Linked DNA regions of Homo sapiens: all the other regions are linked to region 1. Evidence: promoter capture Hi-C in 16 types of primary human blood cells and fetal thymus (Javierre and others, 2016). All regions are on one chromosome and are shown on one strand. The core of a region is centred on a gene start or on the middle of the fragment in contact, and the rest is flanking DNA. Distances in the headings are between cores, read along the strand shown.

Region 1 (3,162 bases), core at 211-2,710:
TCCAAGAGAAAATATGCCTTTTAAGAGACCTCTAAATATGTTATAAAATGTAGCTTCTGTCTAAGAAGAGACTGATTCTTTGAGGAAAATGGTAGAGAGTAGGCTCCCTGGATACACAGAATTGTCCCATTCATTCACTGAAAACACACATGACCAGAGGAGCTGTAGGTAAAGTTATAAAACATGCCTTGAGCAATTTACAAGGAAATTGAAAAAAAAGTACCACTCTTAAGTACTAGAAGATTTATAATATTTGACTTTAGCTTCTTGACTATTTCCATTTTTTAGTTAAGAAAGTTAAGATTAAAAGGTTTAAATAACTTATCCAAGCCCAAAAAAAAAGTAGCACAGCCAGAATCCATCCAAATTTGTTTGACTCCAGAGAGCATACTCTTTCTCACGTATCACATAATAGCCTTAGAGTCTGCCCTCGTATATGGAAAACACTCTAATGTAGTAGCTAAAAGCAGGAGCTCTAGCTAAAAGCAAGACCTAGGTTATAGGTCTTGGCTCTACCTCCTGTTAGCTGTCTGACTTTGCACCTGTTACCAACTTTTTGTGCCTCCATTTTCTCAACTGTAAAATGAGGGGAAATAATATTTCTTTTTTTTTTTTTTTTTTTTTTTTTTTTTTTTGAGGACGAGTCTTGCTCAGTCGCCCAGGCTGGAGGGCAGTGGCGCGATCTCGGCTCACTGCAAGCTCCACCTCCTGGGTTCACGCCATTCTTCCGCCTCAGCCTCCCGAGTAGCTGGAACTACAGGTGCCCGCCACCACGCCCGGCTAATTTTTTTGTATTTTTAGTAGAGACGGGGTTTCACCTTGTTAGCCAGGATGGTCTCGATCTCCTGACCTCATGATCCTCCCGCCTCGGCCTCCCAAAAGTGCTGGGATTACAGGCATGAGCCACCGTGCCTGGCCAAAAATAATATTTCTTAAGGTAATATTTCATAATGTAAGTCCTTACCTTATAGAGTTGATGTGAGATTTAAATGAGATAATACATATAAAATGCTTAGGAAAATGGCAGGCCCAAATAAAATGCTCATTAAAATTAGCTATTATTTTTCAGTGAAATTTCATTATAATTGCAATAATTTAGACAGTTCACTTCACATTTTCTTGATCTCAGTCAACACACGAAGTCTTCCTTCAATCAAAAAGAAATCCCTGGAAAAATTTTATGCAGTCATTAATTTGTACACAAAGGAATATATGAAATGTTAATATGGGTAAAAGTCACAAGAGTTTGGTTGCTTTTTGGAAAGACAACTCTTGCTCTGGTAACTTTTCTGAAACTGATAAATTTCACTGATTAGCACTTTTGCTATCTGTTTCTTTCCCGACAGTACAAAACCCCAGATAAGATGACACATTTCCGTAGTCTGCAAACTTACCCATGAATGTAGGAGATCCATATCTGAGCAGGAAGACTTGAGACGTGTGTGGCGAATACAAGAGGAGCAGTGGTCCCAGGGTCCAACTTGTGCTATTTGGAAATCAAGACATGTCCAGAGAGGGTTTTCAGGAAAAGGCTTCCAGTGATGCCACATGTAAGCTTCACCTTCATACCAAGCTAATTTATCTTCCAAGTTGCAGTTATTTAAAGTGCTGGATCTACCCAGTGATGCAGAAAGAGTATCCAATCTAATCTCCATTTCTTCCTTCCTCCTCGTGCTAACACTATTCACTTTCTTTTCTCGGGACTTGGTTAATTTCAAACAAGAAATCAACGTGTCATCTTCATCTTCTGAATGACAAAGAAATAGGTTAAAAACTATGATTATAATTCTTCACATATAGGAATTATTCTTCCATTTATATAAGAGAAATAAATACACTGCAATGGATAAACCAAGAAGTCATTCAATTTTATAAAATTATTTACAGCAGCATTTATTTAAAAAGCAAGTTATTTTGCTATATAAAATTTTTTGTTTTGTAAAAGTCGCATTTTTCTGACATTTTTGAAACCATAACAATTGATTAAATTCTATCTCACTGGAAAGAATGGAGGCCACATACAAATAATATGCTGAAAGATATTTGAGAAAAAAATACAATTAAAAAACCCACCTCTTATGTTTCTATTCTTAAATATTTTTTTAATTTTTAAGGTCATGTGTATAATAAAGAATTATAAGGAAATAAATAAAATTATTTGCCCTACTTAAAAGAATAAAATCTCAGTGGTTTGGACTGAAATCCTACTGACATTCTGAAATTGTCTATTTTAATATCAATCTACCAAGAGATGTATGGATGCAGTGTGTCTCACAGTGAAATGGTTTTCAAAAAACAAGAACGACAAAAATTTAAAAAAGCCATATCTGTAATACCATAAAGTTCATTTGTGAGATCTATATTTACACAATGTGGCAAAGACTCTGATGAAATTTCTAGTAATGTAGAAAACAGTTACAGAAAATAGAAATATATATCACCCAGAGTCAATTGCTCTATGTCATGGAATCCCTTTAAATCCAAACGTTTAATGGGTATTTTTAAAAGAGTTCGATTACTTAAGGCATGCTATTATAAATAAATAAATGAAAATCAAAGTTGCATGCCATGGACATACCAATTTGTTATGCTTACATCAAAATTCAAATACATTGTTTTCTATGGCCAAGGAATGGCGACAGTGGACACTGCTGAGCTTCCTCCATTGCTCTCTCTCACTGTGTCTCGGAGCCCGGTCTTGAAGGCAAGGAGAAACGGGGCGGTGCATAAATACGGGGTAAAATTCAGGAACAGATGGGGATGTCTGTTTTAAAATAACTTGGCAATAAAAAAAAATCCTCAATGTTTAATGATTATCTTAAGACTTTATCAAAATGGGCTTCATTAACGTATGCTTCCTTAGTTCTCCCTCAAAGGAGTTTTAACAGCTTATTGAGTTCTTACTTACGGAGGTTTATTAATGTCGGTTTCACCTCATCCAGATTCTGCACTCTGGCTTTCTTAGTCCAAACCAGTTTCTGTAGTCGCTTTAATGTCCCCATTGATTCCACAGGGTCACTGCCTGATTTTATGGCCTAGCACAAACACAGCTCAAGGTAAAGACAAATTATTCCTCACAAAAGATTAAATATAAAATATGTTGAGATCATAAATGTGGAAAAATTAATAATGTGACCTTAAAACCTGAAGCCTGAGTCAATT
Region 2 (3,162 bases), core at 169-2,668, 190 kb before region 1:
ATCTTTTTTCTTGCTTAATGGCCATTTGTGCCTTCTGACATGCTGCTAGCCATTCAAAGGTCACACTACCTTGAAGTTGAAGATCAAGACAAATGATTAGACTCATAAAAGACAAATCACGTCTTTCTGGACAGGTGATTATTAATAATTAATTAGCATTTAAACATGTATTATTTAAGTTCTTTTTAAGTTATAAAGTCTTTGATTTGCTAAACAGTTTAAATAATGAATAAAACATAAAATAATAATAGTTACCATTTATTTAATTCCATAATAACTGATTTGTATGTATTATAAGCTTTCTTTCTGAAAGCAGAGTTTGGAGGTGGGTTCATAACTTTCTACAAACAGAAAACTGAGATTTAGAGGGTTAGCTAGGGAAGAATTTAAAATTAGATCCGTCTTATTAAAAAAACAATCTATGTTCTTGTCTTAGTCAGCTTGGGCCTCCATAACAAAATACAATGGACTGTTGGCTTCAAAAACTGAAACTTATTTTCTCACAGTTTTGGTGGCTGGTGGGTCAGAGATCAAGGTGTTGGCCAAATGTGTTTTTTTTTTTTTTTTTGAGGATTCTCTTCCTGGCTCACAAATGGCTGCTTTCCTTGTCATTGATGACTTGATACAGAGGGGGAGAGGGAGAGAGAGAGAGAGCAAAGTGTGTGTTTGTGTGTGTGTCTCTGTGTGTGTTTATATTAGAGAGAGAGAGAGACAGAGATCTTACACTTTTTATAAGGTCACAGTCTTGTGGTATTAGTACCTCATTTTTATGACCTCATTTAACCTTAATTACCTCCTAGAGCCTTTATCGCCAGATACAGTCACATTTCACATCGAAGGTTTGGGCTTCGACATATAAATTCTGTGGGATACAATTCAGTCCATAGCAATTCTGAAGCACTATAATATACTCTTTTAATTTTTAAATAAAGATGGAATTATTTAATATGTTATCTTTCAGTTGCCTTCTGGGTGTGATTTACATTGTGACTTATATATAATACTAACTCCCTGAAAAACTCTCTGACACATAATATCTGTTGAATTAAGGAGTGAATCCCATCCCTAAAAAGAACAAGTTTATGATAATGCAGATGTGTGTTCTTGTATGATTTTCATTTTTTTTTTTTTTGGTCTCCAAAGTATATATTATGCACTATTTCCAATGCAAATGATACCCTTTAAGTTTTCTTTCTAGCAACTCTAGAATTCGGAGAATAAGCCTAAACTCAGCTTTGGTTTCCTAGACTTAATTATGTCTTAAATATGAGACTTCAGTAGTCTAATTCTCTTTTCATCTTCATTGTTTCTCACTCCACCAAAACAATATTTAGCCTCAGCAAGATCTTTAGATTTTGGATATGACTTTAGAATATATAAATAAATACTATTCCAATGGCTAAAATTATTTTTCAAAGCTGGACTAGTACAGAATTACAATGGATTATAGAATATGGAAATGTATCAGCTTTCAGGTGGTTTTCTCTTTTCAACAAAGAAAGCCTTAATAAAAATGGTATTTTCAAAGAACTTACTTAGTTTTTCTGAACACAATGCTATGGCCTTACATTTTTGCCTGATATGATGAAATTCAATAACATCACAAAATAAAAGAGTTTTCTAGACTCACCTCCATACAGGTTGGAGACAAAGGAAAGAAGGGAAATTATGTCAAGATGTTCACGTCTTTTTGTCCTAATCAAATGATCTGATTCAAATGTTTTTACAGTAACATATCTGACATTTTGGTAATAGGTGTTGAAGTGCTTGCCTAAATTTAGATCAAATTAACTATACTATATACAGCAATATTCTTTTGATTCAAATTGGGAGGAAACCCACGAACTTGAAACAGAATAGGATCTGTTGCCTAGTACAGCAGAAAGAATTCTGAGTGAGCTATTAGAAAAGAGTTCCAGGGTCAGTTGTGTGACATTGATTACATGACTCTTACATGTAAACATTGATAACATGACACTGATAACATCTCTTTAGCAGATATGGCCTTGGATATTCCTTTCTTTCTTTGAAAATGTAATTTCATTCCTCCCTCCTTTCTCCCTCTTCCTTTTCCTGCCTTCCTTTCCTCCACAAATAGTTGTACAACTACCATTTCTTAGGCACTGTGAATACAGTAAGGAACCAGAACGATAGGATTCCTGAGCTCAGGGAGCTTATAGCCCAATCAGAGGAGCCCAGACCTTTAACAACTAGTTGCCAAAATAATGATGTGATTTTAAGTATGATAACTGCTTCAAAGAAAAGATTTACATTGGTGGAAAGGGGGCTTTTGTGTATGATTTTATGTTTTTGTGTATACACCTTTACTCTCATGTATTAAAGGGAAGTCCTTCCATCTTTTTTTTTTTTTCCTGTAAAGAGAGAGAGATTTAATTGGTAATGGGCCAAAATTTTAATAAAGAAAATAATACTTGTAATGCAGTCTACAGCTAATGTTAACCTTTTAAATCTATTTTTAGTAAAATTCGTTTTCTCTTTTCCTAAAAAAATTCTTTTGCCAGATTCTAGGGATAGGCATAAGCTTATTTCAGTGCCATCTACTTTAAGAATTTCAAATGTTAGCAATGACTTATTTTATTTACGAAGATGATGAGCTCAGAGGACTAGGTGAAATATATGAGGCCTAGGTTTCTCTTTTTTGTAAAGTGATTTTTTCCCTTGAATTTTAGGCCAGCTAAAAACATTTTCTTTATATAGCTCATTGTAAACAATGTAAACACAGCAGTGTGTAAAGTTAGAAAACAACTCCTTTCAAACAACCCAACTTCCCCATGTGGTGTTTTGACTTTTTTTTCCTGCATAGACATATATAACATAGCTATGCATTTTTATTAACAGAAATTTGTTAATATTGTATATATTCTATAATTTGCTCACCTCCCTTAACAATATGTCATGGATATCTTTCCATATAGTTGTACATAATCCTGTTTCAGTCTAATACCTACATAATTTCCCATTACACTAATGTACTGTAATTTGTTTAAACAATATCTCTTATTGGAGACTAGGGTTATTTCCAGTTTCTTAGTATTATTCTTATGTAATAAAATCCTTCTATGTCTGTCCTTCCTTTTTCTACCATTATTTCTGTGTATCACTTACTAGCACATAGGACAGAGAAGCTGTTTTGCACCCAGG
Region 3 (3,162 bases), core at 354-2,853, 140 kb before region 1:
TGATCTCTGATACATTAGAGTCTTGAGAACAAGAATGATGAAGGATCAAGAGAGCCAATGGATAAGACTGGAGGAAAGGAAGCAGTGGGCAGGAATAGTGGAGCTTGAGCAGGTGGGCCCCGGGTGCTGAAGCCTGGAAGGATGGGTGCTGCCTGGACCCACAATGTTCTGTCAATCAGCTTCAGACTCCCTCAGTCACTGCCATAGTCCAGTCAGACTCCTATTTGTTCTCTCTTTCATTCAAGAGAAAAGATCATGGAATGCAATGAGAATTCATAATTGTATTTAAGTTTCATATGATGCCTAAAATTAATTTTATGAGAGACAAAAATATTTTAAACAATTAGAAACAAGGCTTAAATGAAAATTCCTCAAACTCTTAAAATGATTGAATGTATTCACACTAAAGAGTGAATGATTAATATAAAAATCCATCTTTGAAATGATGGCAGAAGGAGAGAAAGACCACTGGACTCCTGATGGGTAGTAGGGTGACAATACCTAATATTCAGATTTGAGATGGCACAAAGATGTTTAAGGAAACCAAGACTTTCTCTCTCTCTTTCTCTTCTTTTTTAAACCACAAACACCTTTGGATAAGTAAAAGCTTTTTCGCAGATATATGACATTTTACATGGGCCATGTCCCAAATGTTCTGTCTCAAAGTACACAGAAAATGACTTAAAAGGGGCATGGGAGCCAGATTCCCTGTGGACAGTAATTCTAATTCTGAAGAACACATGCAGTTGCTCAACAACGCTGCTGGATTGAGAAATGAGGTCTTGAGAATTACCAAAGAAGTGCTTTCAAGATAATAAAGCTTTGCAGTGTTCCATCGCCTGCAGAGGAACAGCAGGACAGACGGTTTTTCCCTCTAAAAGGGCTAAACTTCTGAAACCTTACAATGATGGAACTGAAGCTTTGGAGTTGTTTTAAGTAAATACAGAAAAAAAAAAAAAAAAAATTCTGTCACAGTTCACATCACTTCAGGATTGACATTACCTGCTTTTATTTATTTTTTACTTCGTTTTGGTGATGCTGGTAGAATAGATGTCACTTGAGAGGTCAAGTCTTCAAAACAGGAGGAAAGCAGAGAGGTGAAGCAACTATGTGGAAAATTCAGGGAGATTTGCTGCTCATGCGTACATTAGCCTAGACATTTCTTTGAAGAAGCTGCTAGGTTAAGGAAATGCCAGTGTTAAGAAACTGCTTTTGAAATAACTTTTTGAAATAATGCATTGCTTACGTGGGATTCTTTCACCTCCAGAGTTTTTATGACTAGTGGATCCCTTATTATTTGTCATTTTATGAAAGAATTTCAATAACTGCACATTAGCTGTTTATCTAAACTTCCAACCTTTTCTTTTTAGCTTTTGGCCAGGCCTTTTCCAGTATTTACTTATTTTATGGAAAAACCAAACTTTATCACTAGACACAAAATTTAAGTGAGCGTTGTCTGTCCCTTGAGCTCACCCACCTTTCTCATCAGCCCTGCTCTTGGTGATCCTCTTGCCTCAGTCCGCTTTGGCCCCTACATCCTGGCACCAGTGTCATCATGGGTGCTCTTCTCAAATAGCTTTATTGTATTCTCTCTCTCAGTAAAGATACAGGAAATGGTGGCATTCTTTTTTTTTTGAGATGAAGTCTGGCTCTGTCTCCCAGGCTGGAGTGCAGTGGCGCGATCTCGCTCACTGCAAGCTCCGCCTTCCGGGTTCACGCCATTCTCCTGCCTCAGCCTCCCGAGTAGCTGGGACTACAGGTGCCCGCCACCATGCCTGGCCAATTTTTTGTATTTTTATTAGAGAGAGGGTTTCACCGTGTTAGCCAGGATGGTCTGGATCTCCTGACCTCGTGATCCGCCCGCCTTGGCCTCCCAAAGTGCTGGGATTACAGGCATGAGCTACCACCACGCCTGGTCTGTTTTCACATTTACATTTTAAGTGATCTGTCATTTATTACGGTACAATTGTGAAACAAGGATCCAACTATTCTTTTTCATTTGACAACTAATTGTCTCAGTACTATTTGTTGGATAAAATATTCTTTCCCCACTGAAATGAAATGCCAGATTTATCATTTGTACATTCTAATATGTACCTGCATTATTTTATGAGCTTTATTTAGGTCAAGCGATCTATTTCTCTGTTGTTGTATCTGTACTATACTTTATAGTTAAAACAAAGAAATACATTTAAATTCCTGGAAGGCCACAAACCTCATTATTATTTTCAAAAATTTTGTAGCTTTTGTGCTCACTGGTCAGATTTCAAAAGGAAAAAAAAAGAGTCAAGCTTCTACTTGGAATACTTTAAAATTTATCTAATAATTGGAATGTATCTTACTGGGATTGTATTTTCAATTGGGAAAAGGATATGCCTCTTCCTATTCCTTTCTTGTTAAATTTATACCTAGGTATTATCAAATTTTGTTACTAATGTGAATTAGATTTTTCTCTCTTTTTTCCCTTTTGTATGTTACTTTTACTTATAGAGAAAAACTATTGATATTTGTAAATTTTCTTATATACAGCAACTTTATAGAACTTATTAGCTCTAAAATTATTTTAGTTATTTATTTTGGATTACAAGGGCATATAATTACATTATCTGCAAATGATAATAGCTTTATCTCTTCTTTTTCAAAATATAGTCAGTTAGTGAATGCATTTCCAAAATTTGTTTCATGAGCTAAACTCTATATACTATTGGTGACAGTCGTACCTGTCTGGCTCCTGACTTTATTGGAACGCTTTTAGTATACCACCTTTTAATATTTCCAGTTTCTGATAAATATATTTTTGATGTTTCAGAAATTGTCTTTATTATTATTATTATTGTTATTATTTTGAGATGGAGTCTTGCTCTGTTGCCCAGGCTGGAGTGCAGTGGCACAATCTCGGCTCACTGCAACCTCTGCCTCCAGGGTTCGAGCAATTCTCCCTGCCTCAGCCTCCCGAGTAGCTGAGATGACAGACACCTGTCACCACACCTGGCTAAATTTTTGTATATTTAGTAGAGATGAGGTTCTGCCATGTTGGCCAGACTGGTCTTGAACTCCTGACCTCAGGTGATCCACCCACCTCAGCCTCCCAAATTGCTGGGATTACAGGTGTGAGCTACCACTCTTGGGCATCTTTTTTATTATATTAGAAACATTTTTTAA

The links. Contacts are between HindIII fragments. The CHiCAGO score rates a contact against its expected background, and 5 or more counts as called.
Region 2: a fragment that was not itself captured here is called in contact with the fragment with the promoter of SAMSN1-AS1 in region 1 in 1 of 17 cell types (neutrophils); the score reaches 5.3 in neutrophils.
Region 3: a contact is called between a fragment that was not itself captured here and the fragment with the promoter of SAMSN1-AS1 in region 1, in 1 of 17 cell types (activated CD4 T cells). The highest score is 5.3, in activated CD4 T cells.

The regions. Positions count from the first base shown.
Region 1 is chr21:14,580,742-14,583,903 of GRCh38, forward strand. SAMSN1-AS1 (SAMSN1 antisense RNA 1) reads left to right here and starts at 1,461. Exons shown (of 5, transcript NR_046512.2): 1 at 1,461-1,550. It also overlaps a transcript of SAMSN1 not described here. The HindIII fragment of the contact is 2,204 bases long and covers 1-1,553 here.
Region 2 is chr21:14,393,941-14,397,102 of GRCh38, forward strand. No RefSeq gene overlaps it. Among named protein-coding and RNA genes, the nearest start is that of HSPA13, 12 kb to the left of the region's middle. The HindIII fragment of the contact is 2,244 bases long and covers 297-2,540 here.
Region 3 is chr21:14,437,630-14,440,791 of GRCh38, forward strand. No RefSeq gene overlaps it. Among named protein-coding and RNA genes, the nearest start is that of HSPA13, 56 kb to the left of the region's middle. The HindIII fragment of the contact is 1,372 bases long and covers 918-2,289 here.